Regions from separate parts of the Homo sapiens genome. Here region 1 is linked to region 2. The links are contacts of gene promoters, found by promoter capture Hi-C in blood cells and fetal thymus (Javierre and others, 2016). All regions are on one chromosome and are shown on one strand. The core of a region is centred on a gene start or on the middle of the fragment in contact, and the rest is flanking DNA. Distances in the headings are between cores, read along the strand shown. Region 1 overlaps GSK3B (glycogen synthase kinase 3 beta). Region 2 holds the start of GPR156 (G protein-coupled receptor 156).

Evidence for each region. Contacts are between HindIII fragments. The CHiCAGO score rates a contact against its expected background, and 5 or more counts as called.
Region 1: a contact is called between a fragment that was not itself captured here and the fragment with the promoter of GPR156 in region 2, in 1 of 17 cell types (neutrophils). The highest score is 5.1, in neutrophils.

What each region holds. Positions count from the first base shown.
Region 1 is chr3:120,049,474-120,055,400 of GRCh38, forward strand. All of the region lies in intron 1 of GSK3B (glycogen synthase kinase 3 beta), which reads right to left. Among named protein-coding and RNA genes, the nearest start is that of MIR6529, 32 kb to the right of the region's middle. The HindIII fragment of the contact is 3,126 bases long and covers 158-3,283 here.
Region 2 is chr3:120,282,330-120,288,062 of GRCh38, forward strand. It overlaps GPR156 (G protein-coupled receptor 156), which reads right to left and starts at 2,893. Exons shown (of 10, transcript NM_153002.3): 1 at 2,700-2,893. LOC124909418 (a long non-coding RNA gene) reads left to right here and starts at 2,827. Exons shown (of 2, transcript XR_007096029.1): 1 at 2,827-4,808. The HindIII fragment of the contact is 9,811 bases long and covers 1-4,376 here.

The DNA.
Region 1 (5,927 bases), core at 471-2,970, 230 kb before region 2:
ATTAGATGTTGAGAGACAGGTAAGTTGACGAGAAAGAGAAGAGAGAACATTTAAGGCAGAGGTAAAAGCATATACTAGAGACAAATCCACATGCCTTCTGAACAGAAGACAAACCCAGAAAGGTAGCCAAAGATCTTACACCATGATAAAGGACTTAAGCTTTATTCTGTAACAAATGAGTAGTAAATAAAAGATTCATATGGGGGGATATATGATCAGACTTCTGAATGTTTACCTGGGGTAGGACAGAAGAATAGACAAGGCTGGAGACAGAAAATAAGTAACAGCCCAAGGGTAGGCAAACCTTTTCTGTAAAAGGCCCGACAGTAAACATTTCGGGCTTTGCAAGCCATACAGTCTCGGTCACAACTACAAAATTCTGCCTTCGTAGCATAAAAATAGCAATAGACAATTAATACATAAACTAATGAGCAAGGCAGCTGCTTTAATCCATTTTGTAGTGCTATGACAGAATACATGAGACTGGGTAATTTATAAAGAAAAGGTTTATTCACCTCACAGTTCTACAGGCTAGGAAATTTAAAGGGCATGGCCCTGGCTTCTGGTGAGGACTTTCATGCTACATCACAAAATGACAAAGAAGCTCAAAGGGGAAGTGGTCAGATGTGAAGACAAAAAATCTGGCGGCATCCTGGCTTTATAACAATCCATTATCTCAGAATTAACCCATTCCCATGAGAACTAATCTAGTACCACCAGAGCAAGAACTCACTCACTGCTACAAAAAGGTACAAAGCCATTCATGAGGGATCCACCCCCCATGAAACAAAACATCTCCCACCAGGCCTCATCTCTTAACACTGCCACATTGATGATCGAAACAAGTTTTAATGCTGAAAAACAAACCATATCTAAACCACAGAAGTTGCATTCTAATAAAACTTGATTTACAAAGACAGACGGCTAGCCGTATTTGGCTTTATGGGCTATAGTTTGCAAACCTCTGGTCTAGGCAGAGTGATAAGGTCCTAAACTAAAGTGAAGGCTCTAGTAAATGAAGAGGAATAGGTTCCAAAGATATTTAGGGGGTAGACTTGAAGAATGACTACTGGTGGAGAACTAGGTGTAAGGAGGAAACAACTTTGGTTCCTGGGAAGGAAGCCAGGGGCGTCTATGGATAATGGTGCCATTTACCAAGATAGAGAGGAAGAAGAAGAATATAGAGGTTTCATTCTGTTTAGGGGAGGAGAGAAGGTCAGGAGAGAAAATGAGTTCAGTTTTAACATGTTCAGTTTAAAGTAGCTGTGGAACATGTAGGTGGTAATTCCTGCAGGTCTAGGATTCTGAAAAGATCTGGGTTAGAGGACTAGATCTGGTCAAAGCAGTAGAATTAATATCTAGTTTTTCATAAACCAGATCACTAGGGTAGAAGGAAGGTAGGCAGAGTATGAACAAATGGCTGAGGTCAAAATATAAACACTTAAACGGGGTAGGTGGCTGGAGAGGTAGAGAAGTGCTCTGCAGGCAAGACTGAGGAAACAATCTGAGAGGCAGAAAAGCAGTTTGAGTGAAGTGTTATGGGTCACTGTAGCTAAATTAAACTACAGGATACAATCATTTTGAGAAGAAATCAGTGGGCCAAACACCAGGTCTAGTAGGGTCTAGGACACTCCAGATGCTGTCTATCAATTTCTTTTTTTTTTTTTTTAATGATGGAGAAAAAAATCAGTGGGCAAGCAAGAGAACAGGACGTTGGGACATAAAACTGAATAGGCTGGTTTACAAAAAAACAGATATTGAAAGAAAGTCAGAAAATTTTAATCAGATGAAAATAGGCAACAGGACAGTTTTCTTAACTAGAATGGGACATAGCTCAACTATTTAATTAGGTAACATAATCTGTACTATGTAGGGAAGCTGTAACACTGAAGGAAATAAAGATAAAATAGCTGTTAAAGATATAGCACAGCCACTCAGTAGACTGGATTTACTTTATCATGAATAAAGGTTTTTTAAAAGTACACAATTAATTATAAAAAGCACTATACTGGGTCAGGCGCGGTGGCTCACGCCTGCAATCCCAGCAATTTGGAAGGCTGAGGCGGGTGTATCACCTGAGGTCAGGACTTTGAGACCAGCCTGGCCAACATGGCAAAACCCCATCTCTACGAAAAATACAAAAATTAGCCAGGTGTGGTGGTGGGCATCTGTAATCCCAGCTACTCAGGAGGCTGAGGCACGAGAATCACTTGAACCCAAGAGGCGGAGGTCACAGTGAGCAGAGATCATGCCACTGCACTCCAGCCCGGGCGACAGAGTGAGACTCTATCTCAAAAAAAAAAAAAAAAGATATGAGTAATTTGGTATGACTGCAGATATGAAGAGACTTGCAAATAGGAAGTATTTTGAAAAAAGCAATGAAACCTTTAATAATTTGTTAAATCATTCCTGAATTTAACAACAAGGTCTTTTTACTAAACCAGCTATCAACAAAAGTAAAAACTGTTTTTGTGGCATTTAAAACCAGTGAAAATTCCTGTGTGGGTTTAGCAGCATTAAACTTTAAACACCATTAACACATCCTGAGAAATTCACAGAAGGAAAGAGTTCACTATTTTTAAACATACTAAATGTGCCTCTTCTTTATAAACGGGATCTGTGGGTGTTAGAGAAGTTCAATAAAGAGGGCTACCCCAGAAAACAGGATTTTCCATCCATTGATGTTTTACTATATAAAAAAGGTGCAAATTTTCAACAGGGCTCTAAAATGTTTAAAAGAATAGTACAATTTATTTGACAGAAGGAAGAAAATGACTAAATTGATGGTTGTCAAATGTCTTAGATAATTTCATTCTCTGTCTTTTAAGAGCACAAGTCTCATAAAAAGGTGAAAATAGGCTTTCTCAGACCAGGCACAAACCCTAACTTCCTGCCCTCCAAGTACTGCCATGGGTTAAATTACAGGTTACCGAGTAGTTCTGATACTAAGGCTGAAAGATTCATGAGCCTCACCAGGTTATGTTAATTTCCTGTCCTAAAATAGCTAGTCCACAGTAACCCCCAACGCACCCCAAGTAAAATATCCCATATGGTAATTCTAGGTTATTTTTTACCTCTCATTTTTAAACACATTAACCTTCCCTAAACCACTGTTAACAATCCATGGACCTACCTCAGAAAAATAAATCTACTTGTTTACATATGCTGCAAATTCTCATTACACTCTCAGACACATAAAATTTGCAATATGACTCTAGTTGACTCTATTCCCTTTTCAAATATAGTAACATCTTTCTAATCAAGAAGACTTCCAAAAACATCAAGCTTAGAAAATCAAAATCCTGGAGGCAGGGAGAAAATAATTATTAACAGCTGTTTACTGAGTAAGTACCTAGTTTGTACCAAGCTATGTTTTTCATGCATTACATCATTTAACCTCAATAGCCGTGTGAGATAGGTACTATTATTATCACCAACTTAAAGATGAAGAAAGCTCTTAGGTAAGTCATTTGTTCAAGGTCAGAGTTCGTAAGTGTTAGAGCTGGGATTCTAAAGCAGTCTAACTACAGAGCTCTACTATAGAGCTCTACATTCTAAGTAAAACAGCAGTAGAAAACTATAGGCCGGGCATGGTGCTCATGCCTGTAATCTCAGCACTTTGGGAGGCCGAGGTGGGTGGATCACCTGAGGTCAGGAGTTCGAGACCAGCCTGGCCAACATGGTGAAACCTCTTCTCTACTAAAAATACAAAAATTAGCCGGGTGTGTTGGCGGGAGCCTGTAATCCCAGCTACTCGGGAGGCTGAGGCAGAAGAATCACTCAAATCTGGGAGGCGGAAGTTGTGGTGAGCCCAGATCGCGCCACTACACTCCAGCCTGGGCGACAGAGTGAGACACTGGCTCAAAAGAAAAAGAAAACTACATCTATCACAGAGTACACTTTACAGATGTAATCCCCAGACCTTCCTTACAATCTAATGATTAAAATCAGTAATTTCATTCAAAGAACAATTCTAACAATTTGGTAATGTGGATTTCCCATTCACAGTTACTTAGCACATTTGTAGTAATAGGGACTACTATTGCTAGGACCAACCACATCAATGAGTTAGTGGGCAAAACACATGTGCACCCACAAGGAAAAGATAAAACTGGCTATTAAAAAGCTACTATATAATTACATTAAACGGCCCCTGAATGGTTTGGCTGTGTCCCACCCAAATCTCATTTTGAATTGTAGCTGCCAAAATTCCTACGTGTTGTGGGAGGGACCCACATTGTATCATGGGGCACATCTTTCCCATACTGTTCTTATGATAGTGAATAAGTCTTATGAGATCTGATGGTTTTATAAGGGGGAGTTTCCCTGCACAAGCTCTCTCTTTGCCTGCTGCCATCCATGTAAGCCGTGACTTGCTCCTCCTTGCTATCCACCATGATTGCGAGGCCTTCCAGTCACGTGGAACTGTGAGTCCATTAAACCTCTTTCCTGTATGAAGTATCCAGTCTCGCGTATGTCTTTATCAGCAGCATGAAAATGAACTAATACAGCCCTGAACTGTTGTATTTTAGAACAGGGCTGTTGCTATTAATATATTCTTTGATACCGGCAGTACAATAACTGATATTCATGGTAGCTGAAATATCATAAAGGTATCAAAAAAGATATTCAGCATTATCTAAAAAATACCTTAGAACAATTTTTACAAAAAGAGCAAACAAGAAGCATAAAAAACATTTCTCTAGAAAGTTCAAGATGATGGTATTTTATCCTTAGTTCAATCTCTCATTCCCTCCTCTCTCTCCTTCCCTAGAACATTAACACTTTCAAATCCCTGCTTGCTCACTTTTAACCTGTACTCCACCAGCTTCATAGGCAAACTTTTCAAACGGTAGTCAATACTCACTGTCTTCCACTTCCTCACCTCTATATCCTCCACTTCTCCAGCTTCTACACCCAACTTCCCAGTTTAGTTGCTTTTTCCAAAGTCATCAATGCCTTCTTATTCCTAAATCTAATAAACACTTTTCAGATTTTATTTGTCCTTTAGGCAGGATTTAACATTTCAGATCCCTCTCTCCCCTAACCTTTTTTCTTTAAACTGGTCACTTGCCTTCAACACAACCTGACCCTTTTTTCTTTTTTATGTTTTGCTTAATTTATTTCCCTCTGCCTGTCCCTCAATTATCAGAGGGTCTCTGACCATCTTCTCTTCTCCTACTAAAAATTCTCAAAGGATGATCTTAAGCATTTCCTTCACCTACTTATGCTACACTGCTCATCAGCTCATACAAGTCTCCTGATAGCTCTCCAAATGGCTTCCACAAATCTCCACCCTAGGCCCCTCAAACTAACATGCCCACAATTGAACTCATCTTGGAAAACAATAACACAGTGTCTTTGAAAGTGTAGCACATGTAATGAGTTTTGTTTTGTTGGAAGTAGGGCTTATTCCACATTTTGATAAACACTGGTATCCATCTGGTCTTCCCAGACAAATATCTGGGTGTCTTTCTTGACTCCTCCTTTCTCTCTCCTTTGGACTCAGACACCTAAAGAAATCATCAACTACTAAAGGAAGATTGTACAACCTTAATCTTTTCAAATCAATTCCCTTTCCTTCATTCCTCCCTCACTTCTTAACGATATCTTGCCTAGGCCCTCCCATAATATTCTTAATTGTTTGTGGCTATAATAATACTTATCACAGAACATGTGTATTTCTCTACCAACCTGCAAAGTTAGAAAAAAAAATGTGTCTTGTTCTTTTTATCTAACTGTATTTTGGAACACAGCTGTCAATAAAAGTCTAGTGAGTAAAGGGTCCCAAGAAGCTAAGCAACACATCAAAAAGAATATAATTTATTAACAATGGTGCAGGAATGTATGTATACTCAACTAGCATTTTTTCAATATTGAAATAACCTCCATAACCTGTGATATACTCCATCACAGTACAGCAATAA
Region 2 (5,733 bases), core at 1,643-4,142:
TATTTTACCAAGGGTTCTGCCACCCTTATGGGAGTCAATGCCTTATTTGTGTAATTTAGTTACCTAATTAATCCAACAGTTATTTATTAATTGCTCATAATATACCAAATAGGAACACAGCCATAAATAAGACAAAAAAATTCCTTGTCTTGATGGAGTTTACATTAGAGTGGGGAACATGCCCAATTAACAAGGAAACACATATACTATATAGTGTCAGGGAGTGCTAAGTGCCATGAAGAAGGATAAAGCAGGGTCAGAAGACAGGGAGTGACCACAGGCTGTTTTAGATCAGGTGGCCATCATTCTGGAGAGTATGAAAAGAAACTGGAATGAGCTGAGAAAAGAAGCAGTGGCAGTGTCTGAAGGAAGAGTGTTCAGGCAGAGGGAAGAGCAAGGACGATGGTAAGCAAGAGGACGGCCATAGAATATGAGGGCACCAGACCAAATCACAAGCCCTGGTGGAGAGTTGAATGTTATTCACAGTGTGAGGGGAAGCCATTGGAGGGTGTTAAGCAGGAGAGTAATATCATCCAACTGACTGACATTTTAAGAATGGGAAAAAGAAGGCAGTTAAGGGGTCTGCTCAAGATTCTTATGGGAAAGTCAGAAGAATAAGATCCATATTTTTTTCTTAAAATGTTAATATCCTTCACACATCTATATTTGAAACACCTTCTGATTCAAGCTCTGTCCAGGACCAGATCACATATGTCTGGATTCTAAACACTGATTTTTATTAACAAGTTTGTTTTAAGATAATAAGTTTATAAAATGAGAGGTAGAAAACATCTCTGTATGTCTAAAATTTTTCATAATAAAGTACTGGAGAAAAAAAGGTGAGATAGTGATTTGCATCCTTTATCAGGCAAAATTCATCAGCAACTAAACATGAATGTTCTGATTCTCAAGACCTTTGCAAAATAAAGGCTCTGATTTTTTTTTTTCAACTAAATGTAGAACATTTCTTTCAACCCCCAAATCCACCTTTGCAGCCCAAGTCAGTCCACGTTGCACTGTTTCTGCAGCATGTCAGAGCCTCTGGCTTCTTTCCTCTCTCCCCCTTCCCCCAATTAATCTCTGAAACCTACATAAGAATGGAATAAAATGCAAATTCAAGGAGAAGGATGCAGTTTTCAGAGAAGGCCTCATCCTCCTCCTACCCTATAATGGAAATTCCCTTATGGTTAAACAACAAAAATGGAAATATTAAAACCCTCAGCTGAAAACAAACACTTAAGCACCTATTCTCCTTTCCAGAGAATCTGTTTCCCTCAATCATTATTTTTCCACTCTTTTGAGAGCCTTCTAGGCTGAAAGTTGTTTCATCTCACCCATCTTGGGTCTCTCCTAGGTCTCATTTCTGCCTTCACCAGGCTTGAAGTTCTATATCCCTAGGCTATCAGAACTTTGACTCTGACCAGGCTCAATTCTAGACTTTACTGGGGAATGGGGAGAAGCTAAAAGCTGGGGGTGGAAGAGAAGGGGAAACAGAGGGAACATTCCAGAGACAGTAGTGTCCCTGAAGGGGAATTAGGCTGGCAAAATGGGGACCAGAAAGCCACCTCTATTCCTCACAAGGGACACCTAACTCAAGCACAGCCTGCTAAAGCACTTTATTCTCCAGACTCAAATTGCCTTAACCTGTAAGCAAACGCTTCCCCAGCCATTTATCCGCAAGCGCATTTGCCCCACCTGCAGCAATGAAAGAAGCACTGTTTTTGCAAGCCGGGCTGCTACCCAGACTGCGAGGAGACATTCTGTGCAGAATTCAGCCACTGGTGGAGAAAAAGAAGTTTTTCTTTGCAGGCCTTGCTGCCTAATACAACTATATCAACAATTTCTCCCGCTGTGTAAGCCCCATCTGAAAATCTTTCCCTTTTATCTAGGATGCAAAAATGTAATGTTATCCTCCATATTCTGGTTTAAAGAACTACACCAGGAAAGACATTTTATGATAGGCTAGGGCATCATTTACCTCTAATTCAAGCATGCATGTACCTAGAAAACTAACAAAGGGGTAAGTTATGCCATGCCATGACTTCTCTTCCCAGATTTCTATCCTGAAATCTTAACAAAATTCGATTTTAAAAACCTCAAGGTTTGTATTCTTCACGAGTACATGGATACCTTGAGTTCTACCTAGAGGCCTCTAGTTTCTGACAGAGCTAACTTGGAAAGGGCTGCTTGCCAGGGTACAAGGATGTTGCAGCTTCCAGGTGACTCCCTCATGCCCAGAAGCAAGGCAGTTCAACAGACGCAGTGCAATACAATTGTCCCTTTTCAGGACTTTGCAATCTCCATGGGGGAGCCCATCGTGCCCGCCACTCTACACCCTGGGGGTGAACATGCCCTGCAAAGCAGATTCGGCGTGAGGAGACTCTGGAAAGTCTACAGGCGGTGGGAAACTGTTTCGGGATCTCTCATTTTCAGCACAGCCGGTCGCTTATTCAGCAGAAAACCCACGGCCCCATCTTCACACCAAATTACAGTACTCTCCCGTCTCTTCCACTGAAATTGCCACTCGCATCCCTGATGCGTGACCCCTGCTCACCTCAAGTTCCTATGAGAGTTTCTTTACCGGTTCCAAACAAACTGCCCAGATTCTGGAAAGGGAGAGAAAGCCCCTCCCCCTTTCCACTTTCACTTAATAATTAAGTGTTTGAAGTTTTGTGGATCCTTAAGGTCGCTGTGCTCACCTCATCAGCGTCGGACCGCCGAGAAGCGCCAAGCCCGCTGCTATGTGCAGGACGCCCACGGTCCCCCGGCGTCTCGCGCGTTCGCGGGGCTGGAAGGGGCGGGAAGGGGCGGGCCGGGGCAGAGACAGGGGCCCGCGCCCATCGCCGCGCCGGGAGCCTGGCGTGGAGGCGGCGGGACGGCGGCGCAGGCCTCTGAGGTGTGCGCGGGGCGCCGGGCGCCTCTGGCCGGGGCACTGGCTGAGCCACGCCTGCCCGCCCCTCCCTGGCGCCGCCCGCGTGGCGCGCCTCGACCCTGCTCTCCCGCGAGGGCCGGGAGGGCTCCGGGACCTTGCAGACTCCACGCGCCTCACGGCTCCTCCAGCTCCTCGGATCTTTCTCCTTGCGTCGCCGCCGAGTCCCCTGGGGCGGCCCCGCCTCCGGCCGTCTCCTCAGAGACCTTCCCTGGGGGGCGCCTTCCCCTCAGCGCCCCTTCCCGGGCCTCGAGCCAGCGGCTGCCGCAGGAGCTGGCCCCGGGGCGAGGAGCTTCAGATTCAGGTCCCTAGCCGGCCTCGGTAAGGAGACTGGAAGGATTCTCCGCGAATGCTCATTTTTATTTCTGGAGTGGCGTCGGAGTTACCAATTAGTTTTCTTATTTTATACTCTCTGGAGTTGCCAAATTCTTTACGTTGAGCTTTTGCTTATTTTATAATCAGAAAGACAAGTACGTTTCTTTTTCCAAGAATGCTTACAGGAGGCCACAAACAAGATGTTCGCACCCAGCCCACTGTCTTCCGCTTAAAAATATGTGTGAGATGTTGTGTTTAAGACACCCTCAAGGAGAAACATAGAGGGGAGACCTGGAAATGGTCTTGGGAATCCACTTAGACTTTCCATATTATATTTGTTTCATTTATTTTAAAATCTCAGACCTATTTATGTGCATTAGGACATTCCACATTTTTACAACTGCGCAGAGGAAATCTTTGGTTGTAGAGGACGGGAAGAGAGAGGCCAGGTCCGCAGACCCCACTGTGACAAGACAGTGGCTACATTCTTAACTGTTTTACACATTGTGATACCCAAAGACTTCTTTTCACAGGATTCTACTGAGGGGGAAAACAAGAGGAAGAAAGAAAGATAGACAAGGTTTTCCTCAAGGCAGTAAGCAAAAAGCTGGTTTCTCAGAAGAAAGAATTATGTCTGAGATTTTACCCAGGACTCTCCAGATCTCTCATTCTACACAGAAGGACCCTTTCATTTGGAACGTGCAGAAACTGAGGAGGACCATCTCTCTCCTCCATGGGGGCTGCCTGAGTTAAAAAGGCCTGGGTCCATCTTTTTTCCGTAGGAGAGCTGACTTCAGAGTCTAGAGCCAAATCTTCACTTCTGTGGCTCTAGATTGAGGATTTGCCCTTCTGATCTCTGTGGGGCTTTTTTTTTTTAACCTGGGAATTCCCCTGGGCTCTTCGGCTGTTATTCTCATCAACCCCTCTCTATATTCTGCAAGACATTGAAATCTTTCTCCCAGCTTGGCCCCCACCTCCAATCCCAGTATTCTCTTTTCTGAGATTGGAGTATTTCCAACCCCTCAGTTGCCAGGCACTGAAGGTTTTCATCTTCCAGGCCTGCCATGTTTACCTCTGAGATGTTTCTGGCAACTGTCCACTTCTCTGCATTCTCACACTGCTGCTCTTGATAAGCTTCGATTATCTGGGGCTGAATTGTTTCAATAATTTCCTAACTGATTTTCTTGCCTCCTATCTGTCCCCACCACCAACATAGACTTAAGAATGTCACTCTCTTGACAAAACAAGCCAACATCCTCTATCCTCTGTCCCACTCCCAAACCTGCAGTAACTTTCCTGTGCAATTGTAATACAGTGTAAACTTTCATAAGGATGGGGAGTGGCCAAGATGGCTGACCAGAAGCAGGTAATGTACATGGCTCTCACGGAGAGGAACAGAAGGGACGAGTAGATACAACACCTTCAACTGAAACATCCGGGTACTCGCATTGGGATTAATCAAGGAAACAACCTGACCCACAGAGAACAAGGAAAAGCAAGACAGGACAACAGCCCACCTGGGAGCAACAGGGAACCAGGGGATCTTCCCCTGCCCAGGGAAGTGGTAAGTGAATGAGCGACCCCGGAAACCATGCTTCTCCCACAGATCTTTGCAACCCTCCTGTCAGGAGATCTCCTTGTGAATCCACTCCACTAGCAGCAGGGCCTTCAGTCTTCAGTCTGGCAGACAGGGCTACATGGAGTCTCAGCAAAGCAGCCACTCAGGCATGCGTGGAGACCCTGGAGGCTTAGATACTTGGGCGTTCTGGCAAAAGTAGCTGCATCTCCCACAAAGAGGGAGTTTAGACTCCCATTCATACCCCTAAGAAAGAGGCTGAATCCAGAGGGCTGAGCAGCAACAGCCCGCAGGGCCCACTTCCACAACACCTCACACAAGACAGGACCCACTGGCTTGGAATTCCACCCAGCTACCAGTAGCAACATAGCACCTGCCTAAGTAGGAGCTCCCAGGGGAGGGGTAGGCCAACATCTTTGCTGTTCAGGAGCTTTAGCTGTTCCAGCCTTCAGGGTTTGGAGAGTCTGAGACGACCTGGGGCGGTAAGGATGCCCCAGCACAGCACAGCTGCTCTACCAAAATGTGGCCAGACTGCTGCTTTAAGTGGGTGCCCAATCCCATTCCTACTCACTGGGTGTGACCTCCCAACCAGGGCCTCCAGCCACCCTGCCTGAGCTCTTCAGCTGTGACAGAGATCTGAATTCCCCCTGGGATGGCACTCTTAGAGGGAGGGATGGGCTGCCATCTTTGCTGTTTGGCTGACTTAGCTCTTCCAGCCTTTGGGTTGTAGAGTGTCTGAGGTGACCAGGAGCTGAAGTGGACCCCCAGCACAGCACAGCTGCTATACAGAAATGTGGCCAGACTGCTTTTTTAAGTGTGCCCCATCCTGTTCCTCTTCATTAGGTGGGACCTCCCAACCAGGGTCTTCAGCCACTTCCTACAGGTGCCTTTGGGCCAGCAACAGGTCCATACC